2 separate regions of the Homo sapiens genome follow, and region 1 is linked to region 2. The links are contacts of gene promoters, found by promoter capture Hi-C in human tissues and cell types (Jung and others, 2019). All regions are on one chromosome and are shown on one strand. Each heading gives the region's core, a stretch centred on a gene start or on the middle of the fragment in contact. The rest is flanking DNA. Distances are from core to core; before and after follow the strand shown.

What was found. Contacts are between HindIII fragments. The study calls those that stand out against the background at their distance.
Region 1: a contact is called between a fragment that was not itself captured here and the fragment with the promoter of OR4D6 in region 2, in 2 of the 25 tissues and cell types used here (mesendoderm cells and neural progenitor cells).

What each region holds. Positions count from the first base shown.
Region 1 is chr11:59,238,438-59,245,829 of GRCh38, forward strand. No RefSeq gene overlaps it. Among named protein-coding and RNA genes, the nearest start is that of MPEG1, 29 kb to the left of the region's middle. The HindIII fragment of the contact is 4,570 bases long and covers 3,077-7,392 here.
Region 2 is chr11:59,455,290-59,462,453 of GRCh38, forward strand. It overlaps OR4D6 (olfactory receptor family 4 subfamily D member 6), which reads left to right and starts at 1,672. Exons shown (of 1, transcript NM_001004708.1): 1 at 1,672-2,616. The coding sequence starts at 1,672. The coding sequence ends at 2,616. The HindIII fragment of the contact is 13,894 bases long and covers 1-7,164 here.

The DNA.
Region 1 (7,392 bases), core at 4,112-6,611, 210 kb before region 2:
ATCTTTGATAAACCTGACAAAAACAAGCAATGGGGAAATGATTCCCTATTTAGCAAATGTTGCTGAGAAAACTGGCTAGCCATATGCAGAAAATTGAAACTGGACTCCTTCTTTACACATTATACAAAAATTGACTCGAGTTGGATTAAAGACTTAAAAGTAAAACCCAAAACTATAAAAACTCTAGAAGAAAATCTAGGCAATGCAATTCAAGACATAGGCATGGGGAAAGATTTTATGATGAAATTGCCAAAAGCAATAGCAACAAAAGCAAAAAGTGACAAATGGGATCTAATTAAACTAAAGAACTTCTGCACAGCAAAAGAAACTACCATCAGAGTGAACAGAAAACCTACAGAATGAGAGAAAAATTGTGCAATCTATACATCTGACAAAGGTCTAATATCCGGAGTCTACAAGGAACTTAAGCAAATTTACAAGAAAACAAACAACCCCATTAAAAAGTTGACAAAGGACATGAACAGACACTTCTCAAAAGAAGACATATATGTGGCCAACAAATATATGAAAAAAGCTTATCATTGATTATCAAATGCAAATCAAAACCACCCTTCTCACATCAGTCAGAATGGCGATTATTAAAAAGTCAAGAAACAACAGATGCCAGTTAAATTGTGGAGAAGTGGGAATGCTTTTACACACATTTGGTGGGAATTTAATGTAATGTTCAACCTTTGTGGAAGACAATGTGGTGATTCCTCAAAGATTTAGAACCAGAAATATCATTTGACCCAGCAATCCTATTAGTGGGTATATGTCCAAAGAAATATAAATACTTCTACTATAAAGACACATGCATGTGTATGTTTATGCAGCACTATTCACAATAGCAAAAACATGGAGTCAACCCAAATGCCCATCAATGATAGACTGAATAAAGAAAATGTGGTACATATACACCATGGAATACTATGCAGCCATAAACAAAAGGAGATCGTGTCCATTGCAGGTACATGGATAAAGCTAGAAGCCATTATCCTCAGTAAACTAATGCAGGAACAAAAACTCAAACACTGCATATTCTCACTTATAAGTGGAAGCTGAACAATAAGAACACACGAACATGGGGAGGGGAACAACACACACTGGGGCCTGTCAGGGGAGGACACAGATGATGATAGCATTAGGGAAAATAGCTAATACATACTGGGCTTAATACATAGGTGATGGGTTGATAGGTGGCAGCAAACCACCGTGGCACATATTTACCTATGTAACAAACCTGCACATGTACACCAGAACTTAAAACAATAACATAATACAAAATAAAACAGCTGAGTCTTCTCTGTTATTGGTGAAAATGTCTGTGTAATTCACTTTAAGGTTCTTATTTCAGTGAACACTTGATATCCATAGATTATAAAATGGTTAACAAGGAAATGTCTGAGTTTAAATGATGGTGTCTAACACCTCAGTTTTCAGAAGTAACCTAAATAAACTGTTAAAAATGAAATAATTGAGTACCTATAAATAGGATAAATGTTTTAGGTAAACTTTTTGTGTAATTTAAAATCTGAAAATTATTTTTGATGCTCATTGAATATCTGGATCACTTCCAATTATGAAAGGGTTGTGATATGGGGAAATATGTTTCTAAAAATTGTGGAATTGTTTTTATCTATAAAATGCTCATATCTGACAGTTCAAGATTTCTTGCTTTTAAGGGTTTCACTAAAAGTTAAGGCTACTAAGGACAAGAATTATAGTTAATATATAATTCTATACATAAAATGTGCCAAAAGATGTGCTATTAATGGGAAAAATAATAAAAATTAAAAGTTAGTTCAATTTACATATTTGAAAAAGTTACTTATGACACAAGGTAGTAAGAAATCTGTAAGTAGGTCAAAGAGATAGGAAGACAGTTATGCTTACAAAGATGTATTTTTGGTAAGGAAGGTTATAAAGAAAATGTAATAATTTTTATGAGAAAGGATCTTGTATGGTAAATTTTTTTGGCCTAGAGTAAAATGACTGGTTATCTAAAGAAGAAGAAGAAAATCTGGGACTGAACAGAAAGCCCAGGCATGTCATGGATGGTCTGTGTAAGTCATATATAATTTTTTTGTTTCTCTGTGTGTCTATCTTCATGCAGATAGAGTGAAACTAGAAAGCTGAAAAAGTTTAGATAATAAAATATTATTTAAAACATGATAAGGATTTGTAGAAATTTGGCTAATTAACATTCTCATATTTAAAACTCTTAGTCTTGATTAAAGTAAAATAAGAAATATTGTAAAGAAATGCATTGGCAGTTTGGTGATTCTTTTTCAGTGCAGATAAGCATGAAGCCAGATTTAGTGTAGAGCCAAATTTCACATATCTGCTTGCATTGCTTCATATGATGTTTACTGTTTTGCATGGATATTGCTGGCACTGGAGTATTTACTGATCATGTACCTAGAGTGAATATCTTGATTTCACAGGATTTATTGTGATATTGGTAGACTTAAAGATATTAAATTGTGTATCAGGAATAAAATATTCATTCTATAGGCTTTTTAGGCTCTAGGCAACATGTTAACCTCCAACATAAACTGAGTAGGAAAAATTTAGGGTTGGTTTTCTGTTTATTTGTTTTTGCTTCTAAATTTTCATTTGTTTGCTGTTTTTTTCTCCTTTGGGTTGGCTTGTGTATTCATATATATAAAACCATTGTGGCTTTTTTTTAGTTTCTGGGGGAAGGTTTTTATTTTGTTCTGTGAACAGTTATTTTGTTTCCTGTGCATTTCTCGCAAGTCATCAATTGTTCTCTTTATCTGGAATTCCTAGGCTATATTTGTTGGGCCTGTAGGAATTGACAGAGCACAACAGCCATTTAGAATTTACTTGGTTTTACTGGCCTCTGATGATCTAGAGAGCTATGAGAGCTTTAATGCTCCTGGCAAAAGAAAATTACATAAAAGATTTTTAAATAAGTTCTGAACAGAAATTGTACATTATTTATTATTTGAAAAAGTAGGTGAGAATAAAAATGTTTAAATGATGTTTATTTCCAAGGTAATTCAATTCAATTAATAATTTGAGTAGGTTTCACATCTTTCCCTTTAGGTAATGAAGAAATACTATGATATGGCTACAAAGTTTTAATATTCAAAAAAGATTGGCCTTGTCATTAGAGAAATTATATTGATTGGGATTTCTCTCAAACTAATCTAGTTGTATTCACCATTATTAAAATTAAGTGACACTCAATTGGACTAAGTAGCAATAAAAATATGAGACTTCCTAGTGATTTTTTTTTATCCCAAGCCATTTACTACTGATGGGCCTTGATGTGTGTGCTTGAAAACAAAACATATGCAAGTGTTAGACTGGTTTGAAGATTTGGGTGGTGAAAGTTAGCTAATTAGATGTCAGTGCTCTATCTAGAAGCCAATCTTGGAAATATGTGATAATGCCCTTTTAAAATAGCTGAAAAGAAATTATTTTGTGTTTGTTTTCACTTCATTCTTGTTTGGTTGTATAGCATTTAAGTGAAAGGAGATTTTTTATCCTTATACTAGTATTTGCATTTACCATCTTTTAATGATGGAGAGAAAAGTTAGTTGTCTTACTTTGATATGTTTGGCATAGGACCTATGACACTTTTGATGTTTTTGGTCACAGTTCTGTCACTAGAATGCTAGCAATTAGATATATGCAATGAGTAACCTACTTTAATACAATGGTTTGAAGTACCACAGGCAGTAACTCCTAAACACCAAATCACAGTGTTTTAATTTGTAACATGTTAAAGAGAATAATCAGACTTTCTGTAGTACAAATATCTTATTAACTACTGCTTGTGCTGGTAAGTTACAGGGCTTTGACTCCTGGGTTGGAAAAAGGCAATAACCCCTGCTAAATTATGAACATTAACACCAGTTGAAGCATCATCATCAGACTCAGGAGAAGAGCGCCATCAAAATGAACTGCTTTTGTGAAACACAAGACTAGAAATTAAACTATTCAATCCCTCTAGGCCCCAGGACTATCATGGAAGAGGTGGGCCTGTGAGATTGTAAGGGCCCATCTGATGGACTAGATTAGTTCAAAGATTTTCTATAATTAAACATTAATATAAAAAGGACACTAATGAAAGACCAGAATCTGGGCCCATGTGTTACAATAACAGGGCTTTCTTGGAGCATTGATCTGATGTTTAATAGAAAATTGAAAAAGGTGATAAAAAATTATGGAAATCTTGCCTTATGGTCAAACTGATTAAAATTAGATTTGTTTATAAGGTTTTATTAAAATTAGTTTTAACATTAGTAATGCACCACACAAAGGTAAAATCTTGGTTTTCACTTTTGAACAAAGTGTTTGTTCAAATATTAAGAGATAAAAGATTTTGTTTACCTCTTGAGTGAACTGCAGGGAGAAAATGGAGGGGAAAGAGACAGATTTAGTTGGCCTCATGCTGTCTTAAGTATTAGGTCTTACTGTTTGGGAAACTGTGTTTCCTTTCTATGGAAGAGTAAATGTTTTTGTATTATAATTTTGGCTATCTGAATGGCAATTTTATAGTAACTTGTGATCTTGTTTTGTGATATTGAGTGTCAGTGAGACCTTTGAAATCTGACAGACTTTCCAACAGCAAATTTTCGAGTTTTAAATTCAGTCTTTTGACCTCAAATTTTTTGGATCTTAAGTTTCCTGAAGTTCAAGAGAGACATGTTGGGCTTATTAGACTTATTTGTAATGTTAGAATTATACAGGAAGCATTATCAAATCTGAGATGTATTTCATTTCCTTTGAGTTATATTTATATAGATGTATTATTAATATGTGTTCCAGGATTATATGAGATTCCTAAAATTCTGATATGTCTTAATATAGGTTGTCAGTAACAATAAAAAATAATCATATATTGTTGTATACCACATTTCCTTGTCAACTATGTCTTTTATCTGTGGCTGTCTTAAGACTTTTGTCATCCATCATTGATGTTTTGCTTTGATCCTTCTCAATAAATGTGACTTATAATAAGCAGTCCAATGCTTGCTTCTCTGGAGGAAATCATGAAAGGACTCTTGAATACAAGTTTCTGATAACTTTGGAGATTGTGTCGTTGAATTAGAGAGAAAACTTCCAGGGTACCAATTGAAAGGCTGTGTGTTCATAAAGATTGCTAACCTAACATGAAGTAGAGTAGGAGTTGATTGCATGGACTGAACTAATGAAAGACAGAAATTATTTTTATGGCTTTTGTTGTTCCAAATATTGCAATTCTTTTTGTTTTGTGTCTAAAGTCTGGAGAATCTTTTTCTTTTGAGTTATTTATAGCCTTGAAATATACTTTAAGTGTATTGAGTATGCTTTTTTAAACAGAATTTGAGTCATTTCCCTCTCTCTGACTAATTTCTCCAGAATTTGTAAACTATTTGTGAATATCATTAATTCATGGCAATGGGTTTGTTTGCATAGAGTAAATAACCACATGTTTTCTTTTGTAATGTAACACAGTTGAAGGAACTGGTTATTTTCTCAGGGCTTTGACTGACATGGTCTTGTGAGATGTTCCAAGAAAGCCAGTTTAGAAGAGACTATATGCACAACGATTCTTGTTGCACTTTGTCTGGGTAATCAGGACAAGTATATGGGACTGAAGCTTATTTTGCAGGTAGATTGGTTCTGCTGTGATTTGTCTTTGGTGGAACTGGTGGACTGGAGACAGAACTATTATATGTCTCAAAATTAATATAGCTCCCAACAACCAACTCCTTATTATACCTTTAACTGCAACCACCAGATACAAATGAGCCATCCAACTCATACCCCTTTTTGTAGGGCTACTAATAACAGCAGGAGTAGGATTGGAAGTTAGCGGGATTGCAACTTCCCTATCCTACTACCAATGGTTGTCCAAGGGTTTTATGGAAAGCTTGAATGACATTGCCCAGAGTATTGTAACATTATGAAAACAAATAAACCCCTTGGCAGTGATTGCTTTGCAAAATAGAAGGAGACTAGATCTTCTAACTGCCTCCTGGGTTCATGCCATTCTCCTGCCTCAGCCTCCCGAGTAGCTGGGACTACAGGCACCTGCCACCACGCCTGGCCAATTTATTGTATTTTTAGTAGAGACGGGGTTTCACCATGTTAGCCAGGATGGTCTTGATCTCCTGACCTCGTGATCTGCCCGCCTCGGCCTCCCAAAGTGCTGGGATTACAGACATAAGCCATCGCGCCCGGCCGTTTGTTAAATATTTTAAGCAAATTCTTTTCCTCTCGCCTAGAGACCATTAAGCTTTAGATGATCATGTGAGAAGGTTTCCACACAGTTCCAGGTGAAGACACCACCAGCCATCAAGAAGCTACCCTGTCCCCACCAGACAGAGCAGGATGAGAGTACTGTGATCCCCAATATGTAGGGACTGCTCCCGAAGTCAGCATGAAGCAGTTACAGAAGAAAGACCCTTGGTTCCTCTGCCTCCCATAAAGGTTTATGGGGATCATGTCTCTCAGGGGGGAAATGAGGCAGGAGAATAGGGTCTGGAGTCAGGGAATCTAAGGACTTCCTAGAACTAAATCAAATAGAAACCCCAACTTTCTATATCCAAGTCAATAACTTTGTAACTTGACTTCAGCTATGTCAGGAAACATCCTCTTCTTTTGCATAGGGTATACACCAAATCAATAACTTTGTAATTTCACTTCATCCTCTTCACTTACATAGGGTATAAACCAAGTAACCAATGGGAAACCTCTAGAGGGTATTTAAATCCCAGAAAATTCTGTAACCATCGCTCTTGAGCCACTTACTTTAACCAGCTCCCACTCTGTGGAGTGTACTTTCATTTCAACAATCTGTAATTTTCTTTTATTGCTTTGTTTATGCATTTTGTCTAATTCTTTGTTCAAAATGCTAAGAACCTGGACACCCTCCACTGGTTACAATAGGACTATGTTATTGATATAACTGCAATGGCCGAGCATGGTGGCTGATGCCTGTAATCCCAGCATTTTGGGAGGCTGAGGAGTGCAGATCGCTTGAGGTCAGGAATTTGAGACCAGCCTGGCCAACATGGTGAAACCCCATCTCTACTAAAAGAATATGTAAAAATTAATCAGGTGTGGTGTTGGGCACTGTAATCCCAGCTACTCAGGAGGCTGAGGCAGGAGAATCTCTTGAACTCAGGAGGGGGAGGTTGCAGTGAGCCGAGATTGTGCCACTGCACTCCAGCCTGGGAGACACAGTGAGACTTCATCTCAAAAAAAAAGAAAAGAAAAGATATACCTGCAATATATATGATCTTTCTCCCATTCCAAGTGACTAGACAAGGCTGGTTCTGTGGAATCTGAATTCCAAAAATGATTGTGGAGAGTTCTCTTGTCCTCAACCTCAGCAGGGCTATTTACATTTTAGCAGGGTTGAGCCGCATA
Region 2 (7,164 bases), core at 422-2,921:
GCTAATTTTTTTTTAATTTGTTGTTGTTGTTAAGACAGGGTCTCACTATTGTCCTGGCTGGTCTCAAACTCCTGAACTCAAGCAATCTGCCTGCCTTGACCTCCCAAAGTGCTGGGATTACAGGCATTAGCCACTGCACCTGGTTCATACAGATATTCTTACTGAAAGAAGTTTGTCCTCATATGACTGAATTTCTGATTTGGGAAAAAGAAGTATCAATATAGTAAATTGCTATTATATAGCAATAGTAGAATATCCCTGGAATTTGAGTCAACAAACCTGTTTACAGTTCTCTATATTTCACCAATTCAAACTCTGATTCTGAAAAAAATAAATGTCCTTCTCTAGTCACTTCTAAAGTAAGAAACATTAGACTAATTTATCTCTGAAGTCCTGTGACGCTCTAATGATCAGTTTTTCTGTGATACTAAAACATGCCCTGAACAATGACTGTGGCTCTATACAAAGAGCCCTGTGTGTCAATAGCAAGGTCCAGGCTTCCCAGAGTGCCAAAGAGGAGTACTTATGAGGGCCTGACCCTTCTCTTTTTATAAGGGATGAGATAAGGATTAGGTAGTCAAACTACTTAATAAACTGTTTAAGCCTTATATACACACTAGAATTCCGGTAAGCCAAAGTAAGCCCCAGACTCTCTGATTTCTCAGAGTTGTACAGTGGAAAAACCTCTGGAGACTGTTATGTTAAAGAAAAATTATTCACCAGACAATTATTAAAGACAGGAAGATAGATTTCATTTAAAACTCTTGCAATAGAAGAAAAAGATTGAGCTCAACTCGAAATATAGTGAAAACAAGTGAAGATTTATAAGCAATGAGCAGAGTGAGGGAGGTCAGTGGATTGAAAATTACTAAGAAGTGATATCAAAGGTAGGGTGGTTCTTGCTAAACTGGCATAAAAGAATTCTTGCTAAAGACTGGCCAAGGACTTAGATATTGAGGGTGAGGGATGAGGTTAAAAATAATAAATATATAAAAGGGTAAGGGGTGAGGAATTTGATTAGATTTCAAGGGTGTGGAATTCTCATTAAACTGACTTGGCAAGATTCCTGTTAAAATTGGGCTCAGCAAAGACAGACACAGAAGGTCAAGGTTGAGTCATAGTCAAGAAAAGGGCTCAGAGGAGCCTAACCAACATTTGGTCAAGGAGGGAATCTTTCTCAAGTCAGGAGATTGATTTGTATTTGAATCCTCAATTTACAATTCACTAATTTTGCGACTATGCAGATGTAAGTCATTAACTGCTGTAAAGCTTCAGTTTCCCCGTATATAAAATGGAGATAACCATACTAAAGACTCTTCAGAAACTTCATGAGAATTGAAATCAGTATGAGCTATTGCAGGTGAAAGCCCTTGGTAAAGCATAGGCAAATGGCCATAGTCCATCCATCTCTCTCTGGTCAGAGTGAGGATACAGACATGTGATGGTTTTTTCCTGTTAACCCAAGGTATTTACAATAAGAAAGAAGAACCATATGAAAGAAGAATTTCCAGACCACAAAGAGAAGACTGGCCCAGTTTTTCTGTGTAGTCATGATGACCTGGATGCTTGAGAGCAGTATGTGATCAATGATTTTGCCACCTCATGTCACCATAATCCAAGTTCTAACATATCTTCATCAAAGGTAGGACCTGGAAGAGAGTCATCCCCATCATGGACCAGATCAACCACACTAATGTGAAGGAGTTTTTCTTCCTGGAACTTACACGTTCCCGAGAGCTGGAGTTTTTCTTGTTTGTGGTCTTCTTTGCTGTGTATGTAGCAACAGTCCTGGGAAATGCACTCATTGTGGTCACTATTACCTGTGAGTCCCGCCTACACACTCCTATGTACTTTCTCCTGCGGAACAAATCAGTCCTGGACATCGTTTTTTCATCTATCACCGTCCCCAAGTTCCTGGTGGATCTTTTATCAGACAGGAAAACCATCTCCTACAATGACTGCATGGCACAGATCTTTTTCTTCCACTTTGCTGGTGGGGCAGATATTTTTTTCCTCTCTGTGATGGCCTATGACAGATACCTTGCAATCGCCAAGCCCCTGCACTATGTGACCATGATGAGGAAAGAGGTGTGGGTGGCCTTGGTGGTGGCTTCTTGGGTGAGTGGTGGTTTGCATTCAATCATCCAGGTAATTCTGATGCTTCCATTCCCCTTCTGTGGCCCCAACACACTGGATGCCTTCTACTGTTATGTGCTCCAGGTGGTAAAACTGGCCTGCACTGACACCTTTGCTTTGGAGCTTTTCATGATCTCTAACAACGGACTGGTGACCCTGCTCTGGTTCCTCCTGCTCCTGGGCTCCTACACTGTCATTCTGGTGATGCTGAGATCCCACTCTGGGGAGGGGCGGAACAAGGCCCTCTCCACGTGCACGTCCCACATGCTGGTGGTGACTCTTCACTTCGTGCCTTGTGTTTACATCTACTGCCGGCCCTTCATGACGCTGCCCATGGACACAACCATATCCATTAATAACACGGTCATTACCCCCATGCTGAACCCCATCATCTATTCCCTGAGAAATCAAGAGATGAAGTCAGCCATGCAGAGGCTGCAGAGGAGACTTGGGCCTTCCGAGAGCAGAAAATGGGGGTGAGCAGTCAGATGGAGAGTGGAAGTCTGTCTGACTTAGTTTTCTCAAAATGCTAGCCTAAGAGTAACAGGTCGCTAGCTCTTCTTCCACTACTTCATTGTATATCTTCATAGCCGCTCGATTCTATTAGCGGGAGTATACAAACAAAAAGAAGAAATGAGATTAAACAATGTGAGCTATCGAGCTTGTGGACTCAGGAGAAGAAGAGGGTATAAGGTTGAAATCAATACCCTAAATGCTTTTTGGTGTTACCTGTGACTCATACCAACACTTATCTCACTTTTAGCACCAGTAATATGGAAATATCATTACTTGCTCACAAGTTTGTCAAAAGAATGAAATGTGATCAATGCTGTGAGGATGATAGTTGTGAAGGTTAGTACTGCTCCTGGCATTAATCAGGTATTCAATCAACATTCCCTATTACCTACCCCTCTCTTCCTAAATGTGCATATACACAGAATATAGACACATTTATTTCATATATGCTTTCTCTGGTGACTCTGCTATATCCAGTCAATTATTGAAATCACTTGATTTTATTTTATTTTATTTTATTTTATTTTATTTTATTTTTTTGGGACGGAGTCTTGCTCTGTTGCCCAGGCTGGAGTGCAGTGGCGCGATCTTGGCTCACTGCAAACTCCACCTCCTGGGTTCACGCCATTCTCCTGCCTCAGCCTCCTGAGTAGCTGGGACTACAGGCGCCCGCCATGACGCCCGGCTAATTTTTTGTATTTTTAGTAGGGATGGAGTTTCACCATTTTAGCCAGGATGGTCTCAATCTCCTGACCTCGTGATCCACCCGCCTCGGCCTCCCAAAGTGCTGGGATTACAGGCGTGAGCCACTGCGCCTGGCCTTGATTTTATATTTTAAGTACAGAATCTTAAGTATATTTCACCAATTAGTGAAAATGGAAGGAATATTTTAAACTGTAAGTCAAATATGTACATGGACAAATTTATACATGGACCAAGTATTTCCTGTTCTCAGGTCTAGTCTACTGATTTACCAGCTGAAATTAAAAAGATGCTTGTATAGTTTTGGTACATACATGCGCAGAGACAATTTTTTTTATGTTAACCTGAACTTCCTTTTCTTCTTTATACCCTCCTTACATTTCACCCTCAGGGCTTTTATGACTGGAATAAAACCGTAGTTTTTGTTTATGTATGGGTAGACAATTCAAGACAAATCATGGTGGTTCAAGAAAACAAAACCTGTCTAATAAATACACTTTATGCCTTCATGGCCCACTTTTTGTTCCAGGAGAGAAAAGAAACACATTGTATTCGGGGTCATTTGGGAATAGCCACTGGGTCTGTGTTAGAATCCACCTCTCTCTCAAGGGAAGGATTCCAAGAGAGTAGATATCTAAAGACAATGAATCCTCCTTCTTCCTCTATACTCACCTCAAATCCACCCTTCAGCCTTCAACAGTCATTCAAAAATTATCCAAGAGAAGTAAGGAAGCTCAAGAAATTGCAACACATTGAAAAAAGTTTTGCGAGGTACCAAACTGTTATAACGCATTAATATTTGGCCAAGAAGATCCTAGTAGTTGACATACATCCATGATCCTCCCTGAGTCCTACAAGACAGAGATATTGAGCCAAGACTCCGCATCAGCTCCCCCTGCAGCCCCAAGGGCCTAGAGTCGCAGCTACTCATGGCAAAAGGATCATTTGAACCCAGGAGTTGGAGACCAGCTTGGACAATACTGCAAGACCTTGTTTCCACACACACAAAAAAAATTATTAGCCCCCTCAGGGAGCTTTATTCGCTATTTTTCCTAATTGCTCCCTTATGAGGAAATTCAATACCAAAAATATACTGTATATATTTATGTGTACTGAGGCCATACATCATTGTAATATATAAGTTTTGTTGCTCCCCTGAGAACAAATTGTCTCTTTGGGCATGTCAGGCTCTCATTGAGTATGAATGATTATATGACATTAGATGTTTCCAGAGACCAATATTTCCCCAAAACTCAGAGAATCACAGAATAGGTAGATTCATGTCCATGTGTTCTGGGGCCTTGCAAGAATTTAGAAAGCAGAGAAACGGCATCCTTGTGCGTGTCTGTGTGTATGTATGTGTGTGTGTGTGTGCATATGTGTGGACTTGCTTGCAGTAATAACTTGGAAACTGTTTAATAACTCCCTCTGGAACTCTGACACTACCAGAAGAATGCCCATTCTATTTCCACACTCACATCCAATAAAATTTCCTTTGCTAATTCTCATATTAGGCCTGAGCCTGAGACATTAGTGCACGTAGCAAGGACATTTTAAGCCAAAGAGAAGAGCCAACAATGATGTAACTCTCTTAGTCAGCCCTTTCCAACATGAAGGCTGAAGAGAAGACATTGAAATCTGGTATAATTTATTTTCAGGAGGACTTTGCCTTCAAGCACCATATTTCCCCACCATTATATATGCTGAGGCCCAGCTACCCAGTCTCAGATGGTGTAAATTCATGTTGGACACTGAAGGATTTAGGTAAGAATATTGAACTGTCAGAGTGTGAGATATTATGGATTATACATGAATATGATGAGCATGAAAAATGTGTCAAGTGTCTAAGATATGGCAAAAATAGTTGAAAACTTTAGCAACAGGAAACCAAAAAAAAATGGATGTTAAACACCGGGAAATAAGTAATATCTTCATGGAAAGGAACCACAGCAATGGGGTCAGCATAATAAAAGAGAAGGCAGTTTGTATTTGATAGAAAAATAGACCAGGCAGTGGCTCACATCTGTGATCCTTTGAGAAGCTGAGATGAGCAGATTGCCTGAACTCAGTTGAGAGTTCAAGACCAGCCTGGCCAACATAGTGAAACCCCATCTCTACCAAAAAACACAAAAAATTAGCCAAGCATGGTGGCGCACCCCTGCAGTCCCAGCTACTCAGGAGGCTGAGGCACGAGAATTGCTTGAACCCGGGAGGCAGAGGTTGCAATGAGCAAAGATCACGCCACTGCACCCCAGCCTGGGCAGCAGAATGAGACTCTGTCTCCAAAAAATAAATTAAAGTAAAATAAAATACAATAAGAAAAAGAAAGGAGCAGATTTTGTTTCAGTTTAGGGTTTGCCCATGAGGATCATGAAGCTCTTTCTACCAAATAGGTGCTTCCTTAAAAAAAACATGACTTTAACCTCAAATTCCCTTAACAACTGTGAAGGTTTCAAAGTCAGCTCCATATGCATACTTTGCCCATGGCTCACTGGGTGTCATTTCTCTTTGATTTGGTGACAGCCTTAGTCCCAAACCCATTCACCCAGTGCTGAAGCCTCGGTTCCACTCGGTCAATTCACACATGTTCACTGAAACAAAAATAAGCAAGCTGATTCAAAGAGAAGCTGTCCTTTCACAGAATAGCATTTTACATTTTGCAAATGTCTTCATAAATAACCTTTCATGATAGGCAGGAAAGATTTGGTTTTAGGAGAAACGGAAAGGAACCAAGTTAACTGAATGCCTACTACTGAATGACGGGTACTTTACAAATACTACCTCATTTACTCCTTATGCTACCTAACAAAGTGTTATGCTTCCCAGTTTCCAGAGGAGTAAACTAAAGAAAAATAAAAGATTTGTCGAGGTAACAAAGTAGGAAGAGACAGAATTCCAACCCCAGTGTGCCCTACTCCAAAGCTCTTAACATTATCCCACACTGCATTATCATAGACTGCCATGGCATTTCACCACTGAGGATCTCAGGCACAAAGAGGCAAAGTGGCTTTCTCAAAGTCACAGAACATTTTCATGGCCTGGATCAGAGCATGAATCTTTACCTAGCATCTGAAACCAAGTCAAAGATATGAGCAACATAGGCTGGGCACGGTGGATCACGCCTGTAATCCCAGCACTTTGGGAGGCCAAGGTGGGAGGATCACCTGAAGTCAGGAGTTCAAGACCAGCCTGGCCAATATGGTGAAACCCCATCTCTACTAAAAATACAAAAATTATCTGGGCGTAGTGGTATGCACCTGTAACCTCAGGCACTCGGGAAGATGAGGCAGGAGAATTGCTTGAACCCAGGAGGCAGAGGTTGCAGTGAGCCGAGATCGCACCATTGCACTCCAGCCTGAGTGACAAGAGTGAAACTCCATCTCAAAAAAAAAAAAATATATATATATATAGTATATATACATATATGAGCAATATAGTTTCTTAGCCTGTGTTCGTCAAGATCCTTCTCAGTCACTCAGACTCAAAGGCCAATACATATAAGTCATGATGTGCATTTATCAACTAGATTTATTCATTAATGTAAAAAACATTAATAAGCACCTAACATGTGCCCCAGACTAGGTGAGGCTTTAACAACATTAGGATGAATAAAACATTGAGCAGACAGGATGAACTTGAGGCTTAATAGGAAAATTATACCGAATTAAGGAGAGACAGACATATAAGAAATTAGATGCTATAAACCATGATAGATGTCAGGGCAGAGAATGGCAGAGACACAAAGGAGGGACCTAGGTGAGGAGTGTTAGGAACATGTGGTCAAAGGAGTATACCCTGAACCTGAGTGTT